7 separate regions of the Homo sapiens genome follow, and all the other regions are linked to region 2. The links are contacts of gene promoters, found by promoter capture Hi-C in blood cells and fetal thymus (Javierre and others, 2016). All regions are on one chromosome and are shown on one strand. The core of a region is centred on a gene start or on the middle of the fragment in contact, and the rest is flanking DNA. Distances in the headings are between cores, read along the strand shown. Region 1 overlaps FRMPD2 (FERM and PDZ domain containing 2). Region 2 holds the start of LINC00842 (long intergenic non-protein coding RNA 842). Region 3 overlaps FRMPD2 (FERM and PDZ domain containing 2). Region 4 holds the start of FRMPD2 (FERM and PDZ domain containing 2). Region 5 overlaps FRMPD2 (FERM and PDZ domain containing 2). Region 6 overlaps FRMPD2 (FERM and PDZ domain containing 2). Region 7 has its middle 5.3 kb from the start of MAPK8.

What was found. The method cuts DNA at HindIII sites, captures the fragments that hold promoters and counts their contacts. A CHiCAGO score of 5 or more calls a contact.
Region 1: a fragment that was not itself captured here is called in contact with the fragment with the promoter of LINC00842 in region 2 in 10 of 17 cell types (fetal thymus, M0 macrophages, M1 macrophages and 7 more); the score reaches 9.4 in fetal thymus.
Region 3: a contact is called between a fragment that was not itself captured here and the fragment with the promoter of LINC00842 in region 2, in 13 of 17 cell types (M0 macrophages, endothelial precursors, M2 macrophages and 10 more). The highest score is 11.3, in M0 macrophages.
Region 4: a contact is called between the fragment with the promoter of FRMPD2 here and the fragment with the promoter of LINC00842 in region 2, in 5 of 17 cell types (fetal thymus, M0 macrophages, monocytes and 2 more). The highest score is 10.2, in fetal thymus.
Region 5: a contact is called between a fragment that was not itself captured here and the fragment with the promoter of LINC00842 in region 2, in 5 of 17 cell types (M0 macrophages, M1 macrophages, M2 macrophages and 2 more). The highest score is 9.1, in M0 macrophages.
Region 6: a contact is called between a fragment that was not itself captured here and the fragment with the promoter of LINC00842 in region 2, in 10 of 17 cell types (M2 macrophages, non-activated CD4 T cells, endothelial precursors and 7 more). The highest score is 9.2, in M2 macrophages.
Region 7: a fragment that was not itself captured here is called in contact with the fragment with the promoter of LINC00842 in region 2 in 6 of 17 cell types (fetal thymus, M1 macrophages, erythroblasts and 3 more); the score reaches 10.8 in fetal thymus.

What each region holds. Positions count from the first base shown.
Region 1 is chr10:48,230,386-48,233,339 of GRCh38, forward strand. FRMPD2 (FERM and PDZ domain containing 2) reads right to left here. Exons shown (of 29, transcript NM_001018071.4): 10 at 1,730-1,904. Among named protein-coding and RNA genes, the nearest start is that of FRMPD2, 43 kb to the right of the region's middle. The HindIII fragment of the contact is 2,936 bases long and covers 111-2,954 here.
Region 2 is chr10:46,397,112-46,400,064 of GRCh38, forward strand. It overlaps LINC00842 (long intergenic non-protein coding RNA 842), which reads left to right and starts at 1,251. Exons shown (of 4, transcript NR_033957.2): 1 at 1,251-1,682. RefSeq lists an enhancer at 1-126. The HindIII fragment of the contact is 4,014 bases long and covers 10-2,953 here.
Region 3 is chr10:48,191,161-48,193,860 of GRCh38, forward strand. FRMPD2 (FERM and PDZ domain containing 2) reads right to left here. Exons shown (of 29, transcript NM_001018071.4): 16 at 1,524-1,734. Among named protein-coding and RNA genes, the nearest start is that of FRMPD2, 82 kb to the right of the region's middle. The HindIII fragment of the contact is 6,884 bases long and covers 1-2,700 here.
Region 4 is chr10:48,273,257-48,275,956 of GRCh38, forward strand. It overlaps FRMPD2 (FERM and PDZ domain containing 2), which reads right to left and starts at 1,440. Exons shown (of 29, transcript NM_001018071.4): 1 at 1,287-1,440. The coding sequence starts at 1,311. The HindIII fragment of the contact is 27,288 bases long and covers 1-2,700 here.
Region 5 is chr10:48,208,525-48,211,224 of GRCh38, forward strand. The region is part of intron 13 of FRMPD2 (FERM and PDZ domain containing 2); the gene reads right to left. Among named protein-coding and RNA genes, the nearest start is that of FRMPD2, 65 kb to the right of the region's middle. The HindIII fragment of the contact is 8,361 bases long and covers 1-2,700 here.
Region 6 is chr10:48,252,185-48,254,960 of GRCh38, forward strand. The region is part of intron 1 of FRMPD2 (FERM and PDZ domain containing 2); the gene reads right to left. Among named protein-coding and RNA genes, the nearest start is that of FRMPD2, 21 kb to the right of the region's middle. The HindIII fragment of the contact is 1,977 bases long and covers 529-2,505 here.
Region 7 is chr10:48,299,946-48,302,713 of GRCh38, forward strand. No RefSeq gene overlaps it. Among named protein-coding and RNA genes, the nearest start is that of MAPK8, 5.3 kb to the right of the region's middle. The HindIII fragment of the contact is 7,001 bases long and covers 1-2,768 here.

The DNA.
Region 1 (2,954 bases), core at 329-2,828, 1.8 Mb after region 2:
GCACATAAAGTTACTTCAGCCAAACTGAGGTTTGTCTTGATTTGGCCTCCTAGCCTTGAGAGACTTTTAAAAGTCAGGCTGAGATTCTTATCAAAAGTTCTAGCAGAACAAGCTTCAAAGGAGCCTACGTGGTCAACCACTATTCTTGATGCACTTATGCATCAAGGCCAAACTTGATGAGGCTAAACTTACTTAGTAAACAAATTTGTCTTATTGTGATTATCTTTAGTAAAAATGGGGGTAACTGTAGAAAAGAAATTATGCTTCTAAAGGAAGGTGAAAATTGTATTACACCTGTTATCTGACTGTAGCCCTGTTCATTGCTTTTGTGTGTTTCTAATCTACCTGTAGACTGAATTGGACCCTGAATTCTTCTTGCTTCCTTCAGTATCTGAAGAACAAAGAACAAGAACTTCTCTGTTCCTAAAGCCCTATAAACTGAAGCTGAACAACAACTCAATGTAAAATTCTAGGAACAAGTCTCCTGCCTGATGTGCAGGCTACATAGAGAGTTCACCAAAATGCCCAACGCTGGTCTAGTGCTTCGAAATGACAACCAACACCTATGAAACAGAACAATGAACTCCAGACAGACTTAGCCTCAGAGCCACTCTTTCCAAACCTCCATGTTGCTTAAATGAAGCTGAAAGATGTTTTTACATCAACTCCTACTTGCTGGTCATTTCCCTTCAACGTGAGAGTAGAACAACCAGGAAAGGTCCATCCCAGTACCGAGGAACAATCAAAACCTAACCACAGGATGATCCAGCAGTGATGCTTTCAGAGCAATAACTTGATCAAAAGGGAGAAATGTAAACATTATCAATACCAAAATAAGTCACTTATATTTAACCCTACTAAAATGGAGCTGGGAGGCCATAAGGGAGGGTCACTCATGCTCTATGCCTATAATGAAAAATACCATAGAAACTTTTTTCCAAACCACAGCTTGCTACATGAGTCACACAAGGACAGCCAGCAGCACAAGGACAGCTCGCCACACAAGGGCAGCTCGCCACTCACACAAGAACACTTGCCTGACACTGTTTTCACTAATGAACTGGTGTCAACTCCTGAAATAAGCCCTTGGAACCAATCACCTTTTTGTTTCAAAACAACTCACATGTACTTCTCTCTTTGTCTATAAAGGCTTGCCCTTGCCCAACCTCCTTAGATGCATCTATAGTTCACTATGGCATGTGGATCCTAGATTGCAATCTCCTGCTAATTCCCAAATACACTCATTTTTTGGAGAGCCTGTCTCTCTCCACTGTCATTTTAGGTCGACAGCAGAAATAAAGAGTCTCTAATAGAACGTCAGAGAGGGAAGAGGGTATAGAAACCCTTTTTCTTGGATATTTAGAATGGAGTCTTAATTAGCTCCTAGGGTCAGGGTACTAAGTCCCCATTAGTCCTGCATCATTAGATGGAAATGCTTTTAACATTTGCTTGTTTGTCTAACTTCAGTGCCCTGAGATCAATCAACCAGATCCAGCAAGCCACAGAAACCCACATCTTACACTCATTATTTCCTGACAACCTTCTGCACTTGCTTGATGCTTTATCCATGAGTACTTGAAGCCCTCGTCATGCTGACTAATGTCTAGGCATACAAAGGGAGGCACCCAAGTCTCAAACAGTTTTCCCAGAAGAAACAGAGCTCAGGTACCCAGATACCTGGGTTACCAGAGGCACCAGGCCAGCTGTGAGCTGCCCAAGAGATGCTTACTTTTCATATACGCCAAGCCAAAGTAGGTGAGTTCCTCGAGGTTGGCAAAGGATGTCACGGCATTGAAGACAGCTCCCACTGTTGATTCAACATCACATTTTACCTCCAGGTGCTGCCCGTTCAGCAGGACCACACAGAGGTCCCTGAGAGCCAAATAGGATTTCCCTTTTTTGGTCTGAAAACAACAACAGTATCAATTATACTACAATTATAAGTCATTGAGCCTTTAGTGTGTGCTGGTTACTGTACTAAGCACTTTACACACATTGTCTCATTTAATTGACAACTCTAAAAGATAAGTATATTTACAATTCCTATGCAGCAGATGAGAAACTAAGGCTCAGAAATGGTAAGAGTCTTGCCTAGGGTTTGCACAGTTTGTAAGGCAGGAACTGGACTCAAATCTGAGCCTTCTGCCAGGCTCAGCAGGGGCCAGGAAAGCTGGGAGGCCTGTCTGACTGACGTCTTTCCCATGCGGAAATTCCAGCTCTCCCTTGGGCTCTGCTTCCTAAGAGGGTCACCCAGGGCCCTCATCAATGAATCATATGGCCCTGGATCAATCTGTCGATCTGACATTGTCTCCCCAGGTCCCAGCAGAGCACAGGTTAATTAATTCTAAACTTCAGAGAGAATTTGGGTGGGTGCAGATCCAATGAAGAGACAGAGCTGGAGCAAGGGGATTACCTAGACTCTAGAAATGGGTCGGCAGAGCCAAAGAGCCTCCAGAGTCTGCCTTCTGCCTCTTCATCTCCCACCACAGCCCCACCCAGACCACTGTTGCCTTGGTTCAGCCTCCTGGATAGTTCATCACCAGGCAGCCACCTGGGCCATTCTGTCTGTGTCTTTGCACATATGATACCCACTGCCCCTAGGGCTCTTCCACTCCCTCCCCATGTGGCAAACTCTTATGGATCTGTCAGGTCAGGCTCTGGAGCCCTTGTCTGTGGCTCTTCCTGAGTATCCCCATGTCCCAAAGCCCAGCCTGGACCTCCCCCAGGAAGTTCTCTCTAGAAGGCAGTCATGGACAGACACTAGCATATGTGGCCTTAGTGCCATCGAGACCATGCCTGTGGTCATACCCTGACACTCCTGGCACCCAGGGGCAGCCTATGCACTCCAGGGGCCAGAGCAGATCTGAGGACCCTGTGGGAGGGGGTTTCACACATGCCGCTGGGCAGGGCTGATCACACAGGCATACTCCATGCCACCTTGGTTCCTACACTTG
Region 2 (2,953 bases), core at 1-2,500:
GGGGAAGCTTTACAGGGACAGGCAGGGGAAGATCTTAACCCGGCTTTCGTAGGCCTCTGGCTTGAGTATAGAAGGTGAGTCTGGGACAGGGAGCCCAGCGCCGAAGTGTTGCAACACTATAGGGAGACATACAGACCAATTCCCTCCCACCTAACAGCTCTGTGCTTTGGGGTCCTGGGTTAGTTTCCTGGGAGAAGGCTGGCCTTGGCTACCTCTGTCCTTGACCAAGGACATCGTTTTAAATATTTGTGATGTGTCCTAGGCCACTGCATCTCTGTCCCTGTAGCGAAGAGAAGATACTGATTCCTAAGCTCCTACTCTGAGAACACAAATATCTGCAATACCTCGGTAAGCCCTAGGCCTGAGTGTGAGGTTGCAGGCACTTCCATGGCCCCATGCAGGTGTCTAAGTTCCCTCGTGGTATTTGGCCAAGGGGGGCCCTGTGTGATGCCCTAGCGCGGTGACTACCCGTGTTCCTGGCCCATGGGCATCTTCCACGGAATTCTGGGCTTAGCCTGGGGATTCATGCGGGCGCATCTCTGTGATCTGCTCTGGAGCAGGATGTACATCAGGTCTCTCAGACCTGAGTCCCTGGTGCCTGGCGCTCAGCCTTGACTGAAGTGCTCGGCCCACCCTGCTGGGCCAGCCAGCTCCTGCTCAGGGCCACAGCCCTGTAACCACGGCTTCCTCCCCAGGACTCAGGAATTCTCCCACTCCGGAATGCCTTGCTGCTGGGGTGACCAGGTCTTCACTTGTGAAACAGGAGTCAGCCACCTCAGCCCTGCGCCTGGCCTGGTGGAACATGGGTCACCGCCCCAACCTGGGGCAGCCGCCCCATCCCAACGCAGTTGCTGCCGCTCTCCATGCCTCCCTGTGCCCAGCTAACTGGGGGACTTGTCCCCTGGGAAAACCTGGGTACCCAGGCTGCCTTTGGTTTCAGCCCCTACTCCTCTTCCCGGGCTGCCTTTGCTCCCCGGAAGACCCCTTTCCCCGGGCTGTGTTCACATCGGCTGGGAAGGGTCCCTTGCAGACAGATCTTGGACGAGGTCGCGTCCCCCCTCGTGACCAGCAAACTCCTAAAAGCGGCCCTTGCCCCAGAGCCCCTGTAGCCTCCAACCGGCAGTCAGGAGGCAGCGCCGTCTCAGCGCCGCTTAGTGGCGCCAGGCGTGCCTGGAAATCCGCTTTCGCAGCGCCCCCTCGTAGCCGCCTCCGCCCGCAGAAAGGCGTTCCCTGGACAGAGAAGCGGGCGCGCGGGGGCGGGCGCGCGGGGCCTTGCCGGAGAACCTGACTCTCCGCAGCAGCAGTGGAAGCCGGAGTGACGCGTTGTGTTGAACACCAGTTTTCTGGAGCGCTGTGTGTTCTTAACAGCTGAGCAGTCTGTTTCTCCAATCAGGTTTCAAAGCCACTTCAACTGCACTGGCCCCTGTGGGTCACTGCTGCACCGCCCTGACCCATGTGGGTCCCTGAGGAGCGACCTGCCGGGGCCACCTGGCTGGACGAAAAAGACACACCTTGGACTTAAGCCGTGAGAAAAAAACTTCATCAGTAAGAAGAATGAATAAACAGACTAGGTTGAATCCATACAATGGAATGTTAGCAGACAATAAAAAGAAAATGAACTATTGATGTCCCCTACTGCACAGCAGAAGCTCTGAATCGTGTTCCTGAATGAAAGAAGTCAGGTATGAAAGAATAAACATTGTATGATTCCATTTATATGAAAATGAATCTGTGATTTAAAAATCAGACTAGTATTAGGTTGGTGCAAAAGTAATTGCGGTTTTTGCCTTTTTTTTTTTTTTTTAATAGTTGCTTTGGGGTTTATGGATGGAGTGGCATGGTAGAGGTTAGCTGAAGGGGGCATGAAATAACTTTTTGGGGGTGCTAGAGTGTTGTAAATCTTACAGTGGGGGAGGGACAGGAGTGCAGGCATTTGACAAAACACATTGAATTGTGAAATTTAAGATTTTTGAATTTCTTTGTATGTAAATTACCTGCCAATAAAAACATGACGAATAGAGCAGTTATGAGCATTTGTGTGTAGCTTTTTGTGCAAACTTAAATTATAATTTCTCTGATAAAAGCCCAGGAATGTGATTGTTGAGTAATATGGTAAGTGCATGTTTTTTGAGAAACTGTCAATCTATTTTTGGGAGTGGCTGTGTGTATCATGTTATATTCTCACAAGCAAGGGATGAGAAATTTGGTTTCTCTGCATCCTTGCTAGCATTTGGTTTTATCATTATATTTTTATTTCAACTGCTCAAATAAGTGTGCAGTGATTTCTCATGATCTCAATTTGCATTTCCCCAAAGGCTAATGATGTTAAATATATTTCCACATGCTGATTTGACTCGGCCATGAAATGTCTCTTCATGTCTATTGCCCAATTTCTTATCAGATTTTTTTTTTTACTGTTGAGTTTTGAGAGCTCTTTATGCATTGTAAATGTGAGTCCTTTGTCAGATATGCAGTTTGCAAATATTTTCTCCCCTCCATAGCTTGTCCTTTCATCATCTTAACAGAATATTTTGCAGAGGCAAAGTTTTTAATTTTGATGAAGTCCAATTTATCAATTCTTTCTTTAATGAATCGTACTTGGGTGCCATGCCTATGAACTCATCCTCAACTCCTAGGTCCAGATGATTTTCTCCTGTGTCTTCCTATCATAGCCAGAAACTAGAAAAGAACCAAAATGTCCCTCACTAAGTGAATGCTTAAACTAAGTGACACATCTATGCCAATATTCAGCAATAAAAAGAAACATTATTCATGCAAATAACTAAATGGATGGATCTCAAGAGCATTAGGCTAAGTGAAAAAAACCAATCTCAAAAAGTCACATACTGTACGATTTCACTTGTATAACATTCTTCCAGGGGCAAAATTATAAACAGTGAAAACAGATTAGTGGTTGGCAGGCGTTAGAGGCGGTGGTGGGGAAGTGTGACTA
Region 3 (2,700 bases), core at 183-2,682, 1.8 Mb after region 2:
CTGCCTTGCAGAACCTTGCTGGAGACCCCACATGAAGAGGAGTCAAGACTACTCACGGAGAGAGAGGGGCTCCGTGAGCACTGCCTCCCAACCATCCAAGGAAGCAGCCTGTGAACAAAGTCGTCTTGCGTCCTCTAGACTAGTCCAGCATCTGCTGGACCCCAGACAATACCACATGAAACCCAGAAGAATCCCTCAACTCAGTCCTGCCTGAATTTCTAACCCAGTTCACTGTGAAATTTCTAATCCAGTTCATTGTGAAATGGAATAACACAATGGTCATTGTTTTAAGCCACTGTGCTTTGGGGTCGTTTGTTACACAGCAATAGATGCTCGAAACCGTTTTGCCTTACCACTGTTGATTTAGTTTGTGGTGCACGGCAATGTACATTTGCATCAACAGAATTGGGGGCAATAATTATGGATATAGATATAGGTATAGATATAGATACACACATAGACTTTCAGTTCAAATGAATCATCCATACCCTCTTGCTGAAGTAGCTGGAAAACTCATCCCAAAAAAACAGCTCCTGCAGCAACCTTCATTGGTCATATGCTGCCTGGGAATCTGTGCTATTTCTATAAATTGCAGTGTAAATGTAATCCAAGTCCTAGGCTATTTTTAAATTTATGAATCGTTTTGTCATGTGAAGTTGCATTTATAAGCCCACTATTTTTACATATAAATTTAAATGATAAGAAACTCATCAATAGGAAAGGTAGCGTGGTGTAGAGGTTAGGAGCTGGACTCTAAGGCCAGCTGCTTGTGTTCAAATCCTAACCCCTGGGTTTCCTCTCTGTGATGTGATGAGAACAACGGAAACACTTAACAGAGTCATAAGACTTAAATTAGTTGATATGTACACGTGCTCAGAACAGCACCTGGCTGATAATAAGGCCAAATAGGCTTATTGCAACTTGTTTATTTGTCCTCTCCAATTTCATATTGTCATCTAGTTCTTTCTTCACCAAAAGACGGGAGCATCATAGAAGGAGGAATGAGAGGTTGGCCCTAGAGTGTTTAACATAGACTTAGCCCATAGATGGCCTTCTGTAAATCTCTGTGGAATTGATTGACAGTTACCCAATAAATATACACTTTTCCTAGACATCTAACATCGTTTAAACAATTTCTTGGCCAGGCTTGGTGGCTCATGCCTGTAATCCTAGCACTTTGGGAGGCCGAGGAGGGTGGATCACCTGAGGTCTGGACCTCAGGTTGAGACCAGCCTGACCAACATGGAGAATCCCTGTCTCTACTAAAAATATAAAAATTAGCAGGGTGTGGCAGTGCATGCCTGTAATCCCAGCTACTCAGGAGGCTGAGGCAGGAGAATCGCTTGAACCTGGAAGGCTGAGGTTGCGGTGAGCCAAGATCACGCCACTGCACTCCTCCAGCCTGGGCAACAAGAGCAAAACTCAGTCTCAAAAAAAAAATAAAATAAATCTTCAGTACAGATCACTGCAAACCATCAAGCACATGGTGGTTTGGGCCCAGAGAACAAATGTGTCACACCCACCTGCGCCCGATGCCTTCTGCTCCAGCCTCCTTGCTGCCGTCCACGTTGAAGTTATCCATTGATGTACTCAGCAGGCCTCCTGCAGCACCCTGAAGCCTGGATACAAACAACTCGTTTTCTGAGCATGACAATCTCTGAATCCAAATGAGAGGCTTAGACCGGGCCTGGTGTGCAGGACTCAAATTGGCCATTTGCACAAACTTATCATGGTCTGAATTTGGGGAGAAAAACATAGACATACACACACACAAGAATGATGCTGGATCCATTGCTCTGGTGGTTGTAACATATCACTGGGCCCCCGCTCTCCTCCTCCTTTCTTTTTCTGCTGCTATTTTGTCTCCTGTGATTATCCCTGGGAATGCAAGGTCTCCTAATTAGCACTTGCTAATGAAAGAAACCTCAGAAACAGAAGAAGGAAGAGACGAGATGCTCTCTCTCCCCTTGCAGCTGACAGGACGCAGAGCCAAAGAGCCTGTTTAAATGGGTGCTAACCCTAGAGTATTTGCGGGTGTGTCGGGCTCCGGCCGAGCCTCCTGCGAAATCAGCTGCCCCATCCCCTTCTGCTTTCTGCTTTTACAGATCTGTCCTCCCAAACATTCTTGTAGCAAATGTGCCTCCAAATCTCCTGGGATCCCAAGATTAGGCTCTGCTCTGTGGAGTATAACCTTTAATCTCTACACAGCGTAGTTTGCCCTGGTAATCATATTTAATACAAGGTCCTATTTCCTGAAATATAATATGAGATGTGTTGGGTTCCCCCCAGCTTTGACACTTGCCTTTCTCCTTCCATGCAGAAATGTTTAATAAATAACTTTGATGAAGTCTTGAACTTAAGACCATGGATGTGATTAACTCCCCACTTCACTATTCACATTGATCATAAAAAAAATGGGATTTGAAAAATAGAGCTTTTAAGTTAATGAGGCTTTACATAAAGCCAAGTTAGTATTTTAAGACAGGAAAATGATGACTACATTCTGACCATCTGCGCCTTGCTAAAACCAAGAAGGAAAGAACGGTCAGACACATGGTAGTGGTGTGGCTCCTGGTTTCTCTGTGTGTGTATGTGTGTGTGTGTGTGCACATGCACTTCTAGAGCCTGGTGAAGTGCCTCCATTTCAAGGATATCCATGGGCATATATTTCTTCAAACAGACCCCCCTCTCTTCTCTACA
Region 4 (2,700 bases), core at 190-2,689, 1.9 Mb after region 2:
TATTGCTACTAGATTAATCTTCTTAATATTAAATGCAGACACGACACATCCTTCATTAAAACTACCAGTGCCTATCTGGGACCTTCTGAGTGAACTCTGGGCCATAGAAGGCCTTCCTTGCTCTCCCCTGTTCACCTCTGCAGCCTCCTTTCTTATCAGATTCCCCTGTTCCCACTTTACTAAAGTTAGGCCAAACTGCCTGCTGTTCCCAGAGCATGCTTTACTTATTCATGCCACTGGGCCTTTGCATGTGCTTTTCTCTGCTTGGGATGCCTTTTCCAATCCCCCTGCTCCCAACTCCTGCTAGTGTTCGCTTAGCATTAAAGCCATGCTCAAGCAACACCTCTCCCAGGAGCCCGTGCCACCTCCATTTCGGCACTTGCTATCACCGCCAGTTTTCATGCAGGTCCAGCATTCTGCCCCCCGACCCCCACTGTCCTACAACCTGGAAGATCCTCTGGGCTGGGGGAGACATCCCCAGCATTTGGCATGTGGCCCCAGGAGATACCAAGTAAGTTCTCGTTGAATTAATGAACTACTTAATTGGTTTCAGCTACAGCCTATAGCAAATCACAGGATTTAGCCAGGAGAAATAGACACGACTCATCTCTGAACTCAATTGTTGCTTTAAAAAAAAAAAAAAGTTGTTTACACTGTTGAAAACCTCAACTGAGTTTTTTCTTTCCTTTAAGCATACAAATAAAGCCAGGTGAATCATTTCTTTTCCATTGTTTTCTGGAAGTCAGCTAGGCATACCCTGAGTCTTCTTACTTTAAACCACTGATACTCTTTAAGCAATAACCAAAACACTTGCTTCTGAAAGATAGTGACAGCCATGATTTACTGGGCTACTCAAATGCTCCAAGTATGTTCTAAGTGCCTTACGCGTGTCACCCCATGAATCCTCAGCAACATCGTAACGCATGGGGCATTATTATCCCCATTTTACAGGTAAGAAAAACGAGTCTTAGGAAAGTTAAAAGAGTCATTTGAATTTGCACAGATGCTGAATAGCAAAGCAGTGATTCAAACAAGGGGTGGTCTGATTCTAAAGTCCATGTTTTCTCTTCTGAGCCCATTCTTTATTGCTAAAAAACAAATACAATGTCTATCAGGCTTAGCCAATGGCCTGGAACAAATAATACTCCAAATAATACCACAAAGGGCACTGACACAGGTCCTTGCCCAGCTGTGTTCTTCTTATTCCGGATACCTAGACCCAGTAAGAAGTTTGCCCTTTCCCTGACCAGATTTATAGGAGAAAACTGAATGATGCCAAGGAATACCTGCGTCCTTCGTTAAAGGCTGCATCCAAAAGTCTCCGTGACCAGGTCTAGGCCTTCATCATGGGACAACTTTCCAACAAGGAGCAGGGGTCTCTTGCAAGTCTGTCCGCGGAGCTCCCTGCCACCAGCACTGTTGCCGCTGTCTTTGTTTACTGCTTGTCACTAAGCACTTGCTGCCCAGCGAGTGAGTCAACAAGGCCCCTTCCCTTTCCTGCCACCACTCTCATTCCCTGGGTCCTGCGCAGTCTCTGGCCTGTTAGCAGGCACTGCCACCCCAGCAGCCTGCGTCCTCAAAGCCAGTGACCCGTGAGAGAGCCAGGAAGAGCTCAAGTGGATTAGGTGCCACTGAAGGCAATGGGATTGCTGCTCAGCAGGGCTTTTACGCTGATGTCTCTTTATCTCCTGGCCCAATCAAAAGAAAGAGCTCTGCAAGGAACTGGGGGCAGCCCCAGAGCAGAGGCTTAGTGTCATCAACTCAAGAGTCCTCCATGCCCTTTCATAGTGTCAGACATTGGACCTGCAACCAACAGGACAGGGAACCATGTGAAAGCAGCAGGAGGAAATGATAACCTGGATCTGTCTGTGAGAAAGCAAGAAAAATGTGGTTAGAGAAAGGGGGAAAGGAATTCTTACTCTTTCTGGTGCTTGGATTCAGAAAGGAACCAGCAGAGATGGGGAACAGCAAGAAGTAGATCATAGCTCTGTAGTAGAAGGGGCAAAAGAACAGATCTCTCAAGCCCTTTAAATCAATAGCAGTGTCAAAACTGAGACGTATTTATTTAAAAAGAAAACATGAGTTTTTGCCTGACTACAGAATAAAATACTAAAATTTGAGGCCGGGCACAGTGGCTCATGCCTGTAATCCCAGCACTTTGGGAGGCCAAGGCGGGCAGATCACGAGGTCAGGAGATCGAGACCATCCTGGCTAACATGGCAAAACCCCGTCTCTACTAAAAATACAAAAAATTAGCTGGGCCTGGAGGCGGGTGCCTGTAGTCCCAGCTACTCCGGAGGCTGAGGCAGAAGAATGGCGTGAACCTGGGAGGCGGAGCTTGCAGTGAGCCAAGATCGGGCCACTGCACTCCAGCCTGGGTGACAGAGCGAGACTCTGTCTCGAAAAAAAAATCTGATGAAACTCAGTGCTGGTGAGGGCATGGAGAATGAGTACTCTCATATGCCAATAGTGAGATTACAGATAAGTGCAACTTCTCTGCAGGGAATTTGGTAATATTCATCAAATTTGTAAATGTACATATCCTTTGTAAACCCAGCTGCTAAGAAGTAACCCCATGGACATTCTTGCAAAAGTTCACCAAAGCATCTGAGAAAGGATGCTCTTTGCAGTGTATTTTGGTAGTAGCAGAAAACTGAAAGCCACTGAAGTGCCCATCAACAGTGATTATTGTAGTTCACA
Region 5 (2,700 bases), core at 179-2,678, 1.8 Mb after region 2:
GGAATGGAAATATGGAAAGATGAGCCTGTTTGCTCCTGAGTCTTCACTCTTAACAACTGAAATACAGGGAATCCAAAAGGCCTGGAAACATAGGTGAATACACTTAATGTTGTCAATGACATCTTCAATCTGTAAAACAATAAAATAATGATGTCTACCTCCATTTGCTGTCTGCTAGGGAGTCTCCTAGGATGCTTCTCCTGGCCCCCTTTGCATTGCTATTGCTGGGTGTCCTTTCAGAGGGTCATTTCCTCTCCATGTGCTTTGGGCCATCTTACTACAAGGCCTGTCTTCCTTACAACAGGTAGCAAAGTTGAGATGGGACCAAGCACTCCTGGCTGCCAGCCACACATCCCTTGCTGCATTGAACATTCTTCAAAACAAATGGATTGTTATTTCTGAATATTCATCAAGGGGTTCAGAATTCATCTTCTCTGACCTTATAACTCCACCTGTGGGTATCTACCCTAAGAAAATATGCTGAATAATCAGGACAACCCCTTCTCATAATGCTGTTCAGTACAGATTTGTGGGGTGATTTGGGGAAACCAGCTCCTGGCAGTAAACGATTTCCTAAAAACAGTACTGTCTTAAAATTGATTATCAGGCAGCCTTTACAAAGGATATTTGTAAAGCATTTGTAATTATCAGGAGAGTGCATTTGTTATAATGCTAAGTGGAAGAAACTACAGGATACAATCATTATGATTTCAATAGCAAGAAAAAAATCTTTTAATAATATATTAACAACCCACAGCTATGTGGGAAAATGGCTCCATGGTTGAGGAAGTTAGGAAAACACTGAATTCACCTTAAACAGGTTATTCTGAGATTAATAAGCTAATATAGTTGTGAATCTACAGACAGACTATGGTATTCAGCGCTTCCCAAACTGGACTTTTGCCCAGTCTGTGGCTAGTACAAGGTGCTGAACTTTCAGAGTTAGTCATCAGTGAACTGGGGACCAAGAGCTAGCCTCCCAATAATGGTCTTCTCCTTTTTCTAATGAAAAACAAGAGCCATGAGGAGCTATAATTAAATAATCCAGTGATTGCTTGTAGAATAGTAACTGGGCTCTGTGATGGGCACTGAGGATCCACGGCCTTCCAGGCATTTATAGCCCAGTAGAAGAGATGGAAAATGTCCAGAAATGACGGCTGCACGAGGTGTCTTAGCAATATATATCAACAACGTTCAAAATGTTTATTACCTTCCACCCTGTAATTCCACTTATGAGATTCTATCCCTAAGGAATGAAGCAGAAATACAGCTAAGATTTATATGGAAAAGATGCTAACCTCAGTATTGTTTTAAATAGTCCCATATTGGAAACCATTTATATGTTAAACAATAGAGCATTGAGAGAAAAAATTAGAGTACAATATATGTTAATTCAAAAGAAGTTTTCAAATGTTTAGATCTATGGGATTATATACATACATAAAAGTGCATGTATAATATAAAGCTAATTTTAAATATATATGCATATACATATATATATGAATGCACAGAACAAAGAGAGAAGGATGAATATACCTAAATGTAACTGTGCTATCTCCAGGCGGCAGAATTATGAGGAAATGTTTACTTTTATAATCAGGGAGGGGGAGAAAACCTTTAACAAACCCTCATCCTAATGAGAGGCTCCCAATGTGCTCTGGGGATGATGACAAAGCCCTGTCTAGTTTATCTCTCTGTACCACAGGCAGGCAACACCAGCATTAACAACCCCAACCAGTTTACCAAGGGAAACTGCAAAAGCAAGAGTGCTCCTTGAAACCGATAAAGATTACATGTAAATGGAATCAAATCTATTCAGTGCTTTCTGTGAATGGGGAAAAAAATGGTTTTCTGTATTTTTGCTTCTCAGCCTGGTAGTTTCTTTTACAATCATTTTTCATCGTTCAACCAGGAAGCGAGGGACCCTGACAGTGAGATCAGCACTCAAAGTCAGGGTCTGGGCAGAGGCCAGAAGGTAGCGTCCATCCTGCAGACATCTGCCGCAGGGTTGGGTCCTTGGCCTCTAGATTGGGTTCTGCAGTTCTGTGGCTCTGTGACCACTCATTATCAGATGGCTTTGAAGTCCCCACTGGTCCCTCATCAAGGGAATGCTTCGTCCCCTTGACAGGGAACACGTGTGCAGCCCGGACTATGGAGTGCCCTGATCATGCTTCGCCAGTGCTTCTCAAATGAAACGCTTGCAGGCTACACCATGTTAGATACAGGGATAGTTCTGCAAAATGACCAGCTGAAAAGCAAAGGCCCAACCTCATGTTGGCTGTTCTGTTTTCAAGTACCCATCTCAATTAAGGGCAAGAAAACACAGATGGAATATTTCTACCTGACTTCTGTACAGGGAAATACACAAATCTCCTAACTTCCTTTTAAAACTGCTCCCCCAATCAAATGGCCCAGCTTGTATCCCATCCTGGGGAAGCTGCGAGTGTCCTCGCACTTATCCCCCAGCTGTATCTGCACAGGCAGAGTAGCCACTCTCTCCCTGGTCCCCACATCTTGACATAGAGTAGCTGGTATTGTTCTTGTTCCATTGAGTGTTTATTGAGTTGTGTGCCTGTGGGTAGACCGCAGTCCTCCCCACAAGACATGGGGCTTCCTGGGGACAAAGAGCATGTGCTTTTTGTCTCCATTTTCCAGTGCCTGGCCCACAGCAAGGGGAGATTGTGGAGTAGCAAAGACTAT
Region 6 (2,776 bases), core at 267-2,766, 1.9 Mb after region 2:
CACCTGCCTGAAGTGCCAGAGCGACTCACTAGACAGAAGTATAAGCCCCATGTTTCAGAAAGGGGCAGCCTCACAGATAAACTGGAGGAGGCTCAAGAGGGCTAGTCTTCTCTTCCCTCTCTTCTGGTAAGCAGGGCCTTTAGACCAAAGCTGATGTTTAAATGTCTATCTCCCTGACAAAGCTGCCACCCACTAATCTCCAGAGACCCAGGTGCTGAGTGGCACCGGAAGAAGCCAGGCGGGCTTTTCCTAATCCATTTACATCCTCACTGATCTTTCTCTACAGCCAGAGCTCAAGCAGGGCGGGTGTGCAGTGTCGGGCGCTAGATGGGGAGCACATAGAGGCACCCCCATCCCCCATTGACACACTAATCCAAGATCTACTCCCCAGCTGCCCAGCTCCCTGCAGACACCTCTGCTACCAGCCTCCTCCAGCCTCAGGAAGAGAGGCTGGTTTCAGGAGAAAGAGGCTTGGTCTGCTACCTCTCCCTGGGGCAGAAAGGGAGCCGCAGCAGGACCCCCTCAGAAAGCTTGACCTGTGAGCCGTCACTTATCACAAGGAGTCTGTGAAGAAGGGAGTATTGTTTCCATTTACAGACAGGAAATAAGTCCAAGGTAATCAAGTAAAAAGTGATGAATTAGAAGCTGAACTCCAGGCCCTCTCTCTTTTTCTTTTCTATTTCTTTTCTTTTTTCTTTCCTTTCCTTCCTTTTCCTTTCCTTTTCTTTCGTTTTTTTATCTCTCCTCTCTCTTTAGAAACTGTTTGAGACTTATGGACTAGGCATTCCTATTCCACCACATTTTTCTAACTCTCTATAGCCACAGTGAAAGGTTGCTTATTAAAGATAAGAAGGGGGAAGAAGAAGACCATGATTCTTATACAAAAAATCTCTAAATCCCAAAATAAAATATTGAATGGGTGGGGTTTTTTAAATTGCTTTATGACTAGACAAAAATGCATTAAAAGTCTTCTAGGCTGGTGTGGATAGTGAAGACCATTATTTCAGTACAATAATTCAATGGAGGGAGGACAAACTTTTCAACAAATAGTTCTGGATCCATCATGGAAAAAAGCTGAACATGGTCCTAAACCTTGCACCTTATGCAAAAATTACTTCAAAATGAATCATAGATTTAATATAGAACATAAAACTATAAACTTTCATGGAGGAAAATGGGAGAAAATATTTAGGACTCATCACAAACAAGGACTGCCCAATAAAATGAACAGCTGATTTCTCATCAAAAACCATGGAGACCAAAAGGCAGTTGGATGACGTATGGTCTTAACTAGCCACACCAGCCTCAAACACTTAATGCATTTTTTTCTAGGCACAAAGCAGTTAGAAAAACCCCACCCAATATCAAAATACTTGGAGGGGAGACTGTCAAACAAGAATTTGGTAGACAACAAAGCAATCAATCCTTCAAAACTGAAAGAGAAATTAAGACCTATTCACATAAACAAAAATTGTGCAAATTTGTTGCTAGCACACCCTTCCCTCCGAGAAATCCTAATGGAGTCCTTCAGACTGAAATGAAAAGACACTAGACAGTAACTCAAATCCACATGAAGAAATGGGAGCACCCATAAAGATAATAACATAGGTAAATGTAAAAGACAATAAAAATGTATTTTGATTGGAACCCTTTTTTCTCCTATCAGAATTTTTTTAAAAGGAGCATCCAACATCTGGAAAAGCACATAACTGATCGGGTTTGCCAATCAAGCACCCTTCTTTTTGTTAAAGCTAAGAGTCACTAGAGGCTTGAAGTTGCTGTTTTTGTTATTGGACGTGTCAGGATCACAACTTCCATATCAAATATAACCATGATCCAGGAGTCAGTGACAGGAAATTACTCATCACCCTTTCAATTAAAAAAAAAAAAAGTTGTCATGCTTGTTCCAATGCACAAGCACGATCCCTCTACAGAAGGAAATGTGTGCATTCCAGTTTTCGGCACCAACTCCCTGCCTGACCAACCACAGTGTTACGGTGGAATGTTATGATCTGTCCGCAGTGGCAAGTTGGTTTCTGAAGAGTGCAGGAAGCCTGGGAACCATCCAGAGCTCTGAATTTCCCTGGCTGGCCTCAGGACTACAGTGTGGGTTATGAATAATCTGCAAGCTAGCAGGTAGGCCAAGATTTGTATCGCTGCTAGGCAAAAATGCAAATTCCTTTTCTTGACCTGAGAGGTCTGGCAGGCAGATGAGCCCTGCCCACCTCTCCAACTCCACTTCCCACCTCCCTGTCCCTTGCTTACCACCCTCACCGTGTTCCATCACACTGGGCTTGTGATAGATTATGAAGTAAGATAATTCTCTACACTAGCCCACCAGCCCTTAACAACCAGCCTGGACTCACAATTAACATTGTTATCTCTGTGTGATATTGTGAACACTATTTCAAAGCCCACTGCTACTTCCTTGAACGACAATACACTTCCATAGCATTTACTGTACGCCAGGCACTGTTCAGAGTGCTTTATGTGCTAACTCATTTAAGCTTCATGACAGCCTTCTGAAATAGGGCTATCATCATGCCCATTTTAAAGATGAGGAACAAAGAGGTTAAGTGACTTGGCCAGTGTCACACAGCTTGGACTTGGGTTTACGCTCTTGGTCTCAGAGGCAGAGCTCTTCCCCACCATATTATGCTGGCTGTGGAAATGCTGTGAAGCACTTTATGGGGCCTGTAATCTCAGGCTATGAAATAGTCATTAGCCTTTAGCCATCACACCAAGATGCCTCTGGGCTCCTCTCCAAGTTTTTCAT
Region 7 (2,768 bases), core at 194-2,693, 1.9 Mb after region 2:
CTTCATGACTTAGCACTCCCAGAAATAGATTTCTGCCCTATCTACCCTGGATTGCTTATTCCTCAAGCATGGCTGGAGCATTTGGGGAGGAATGCTTATTTATTTATTCATTTAAGACAGGTCTTGCTCTGCCACCCAGGCTGGAGTGCAGTGGCATGATCACGGCTCCCTGCAATTTCAACCTCCTGGGCTCAAGCAATCCTCTCACCTCAGCCTCATGAGTAGCTGGGACTACAGTGTTCACCACCAGGCCTGGCTAATTTTTTTTTTTTTTTTTGTAGAGTTGGAGCCTCACTTTGTGCTTTGTTGCCCAGGCTGGTCTCAAACTCCTGGGCTCAAATGATTTTCCCACCTTGGCCTCCCAAAGTTCTGGGATTACAGGTGTAAGCCACCATGCCCGGCTTCACTTACTTTCCTGTGTAGCTGTCCCTCCTTTAAGAGACCCACACCTTGAAGGGCTATGATACCTCCCTCTGCCTTTTCCCAAGCCCAAAAACCCTACTCACCTCTGCTAGCTTCCCAGACCACGACAAGCCTCAAGCTGGCCAGGCTGACCAGCTATGCCAACCCTCAGCTGAGAGTGAATCCTGTAGGTTTTTGGCAAGAGAAGCAATGCAACCTACCCTCAGAAGTGAAGCTGTCATTGACTGGGAATCTGCTTCAGGAACAGGTTTAAGAAGCCATTGAAAATTCCTTCAAATTGTCTTCTAATCTCCACTTTCCAGAAGCAACAGCACCTTCTCAGGAGCATCAGAGGGCCTCAGGGATCACCTCTGAGTCAGGAACATGAGAATGCCCCAGCAGAGGTCGCTGGCAAGGCTGCGGCAGGGAAACATCACTTGCCCTCTGAGGGGCTCAAAACCCTGCCACCTGCAGAGACTCTTAACTCTCCAGTGATGCCAGAATCTCTTTCTCATTCCCCAATGATGCCACAAAGAGTCTTTTCAAATCTAGCCAAGAATGAGTAGGACTGTTGGCCAAGGTTGGGAATTCACAGGGGTCTCTCTGCCAAAGGGTCATTGGTGGAATGCCTGCCAGTCTAGCATGAGCTCCAGTTTTACATCTGAAGGGTGAGGGTGAAGGCCAGGAGGTAAAGGTGGAGATGGGGTGGAGGGGGCCGGTAATGAAGTGTTGTTTTCTCTCCACAATGGGACCTTGGCACAAGTTCTACAGTGCAGGAGCTATGAAAGGCAAAATTTCACTGGGCTCAAAGAAATTCTTAGCTAATAATTGTAGATGGGGTAGGGTGTTGATGCTAAGAGATCTGGTAAAAAGCTCTCTTCTAAAACATTTATTTATTTAAAACAACAAATATTTTATTTACAGGTTGTATGACTTCAATAATATATTCTTTCTCTCCTATTCAATTTCCTTTATATTTTTTTCACCAGGGGATGAACACTGAATATCTTCAGTTTCTGGGTACTATGGACTGAATTGTGTCTCTGTCTCCTCTAATTTCATATGTTGAAGCCCCAGCTCCCATTGTAATGGCATTAGGAGGTGGGGCCTTTGGGAGGTGATTAGGGTTGGACAAGGTCAGGAGGGTGGGGCCCACATGGTGGAATTACCATCCTCATAAGAAGAGACACCAGAGAGCTCGCTCTCTCTCTCTCTCTCTCTCTCTCTCTCTCTCTCTCTCTCTCTCTCTCTCCCTCCCTCTCCCTCTCACTGTGCCATGTGAGGACACAGCAAGAAGGTGACTGTCTGCAAGCTGAGAAAGGTGACTTCACCAGAACCTGCCCATACTGGCAAACTCCTATCTCAGACTTCCAGCCTTTAGAATTTTGAGAAAATAAATTTCTGTCACTTAAGCCACCTAGTTTATGATATTTTGTGATGGCAGCCCAAGCTAAGGCAGTGGGTGTGGATGGAGAGAGGACAATTTAGCATATGTGTAAGATGTGGGAGGTGGGCAAAACATTGGAAAAAAAGAACCAATAATGAAAGTAAGAATAAAGAATGAAAGCACAAAAGCTAATGGAGAGCAAGATGTTCTGTCCAGTTGCTCTGAGGTTTTAAAAAAACAGAAAATACGCCAAATTTCTTAGGGCACTGGCTTTCATTTTTGGCTACAAATTAAAATTACCTGAGGGGATGTGAAAATAGCTACAGAAGCCTGGGCTCCACCCCAGACCACTGGAGAAGGAGCACCAGACATGGAGCCTGGGTGTGGGTAGTGTTTTGTTTTGTTTTGTTTTCCTTGAGACGGAGTCTTGCTCTGTCACCCAGGCTGGAGTGCAGTGGTGTGATCTTGGCTCACTGCAACCTCCACCTCCCAGGTTCAAGTGATTCTCCTGCCTCAGCCTCTTGAGTAGCTGAGATTACAGGCTTGCGCCACCACGACCAGCTAATTTTTGTATTTTTAATAGCGATGGGGCTTCACCATGTTTGTCAGGCTGGTCTTGAACTCCTGACCTTGTGATCCACCTGCCTCGGCCTCCCGAAGTGCTAGGATTACAGCTGTGAGCCACCACGTTCAGCCGGGTGTGGGCAGTTTTAAAGCCCCTCCCCACCCAGGTGATTAAAATGAGCAGGGTGACTTGTGAGTCAGTGTCCTGCTGCTGGGATTCTCAAACTCAAATGGGCATCAGAAATGCCTTGGGGGGGCTCATTAAAACACAGATTGCTGGGCTTCTTCCTCAAGGTTTCTCACTCAGCCGGTCTAAGGTGAGTATGAGAATTTGCATTTTCGACAAGTTCTCAGCTGATGCTGGTCTGGGGAACCACAATTTGAAAACCATCGTCTTAGAGGAATAAATGCTGAC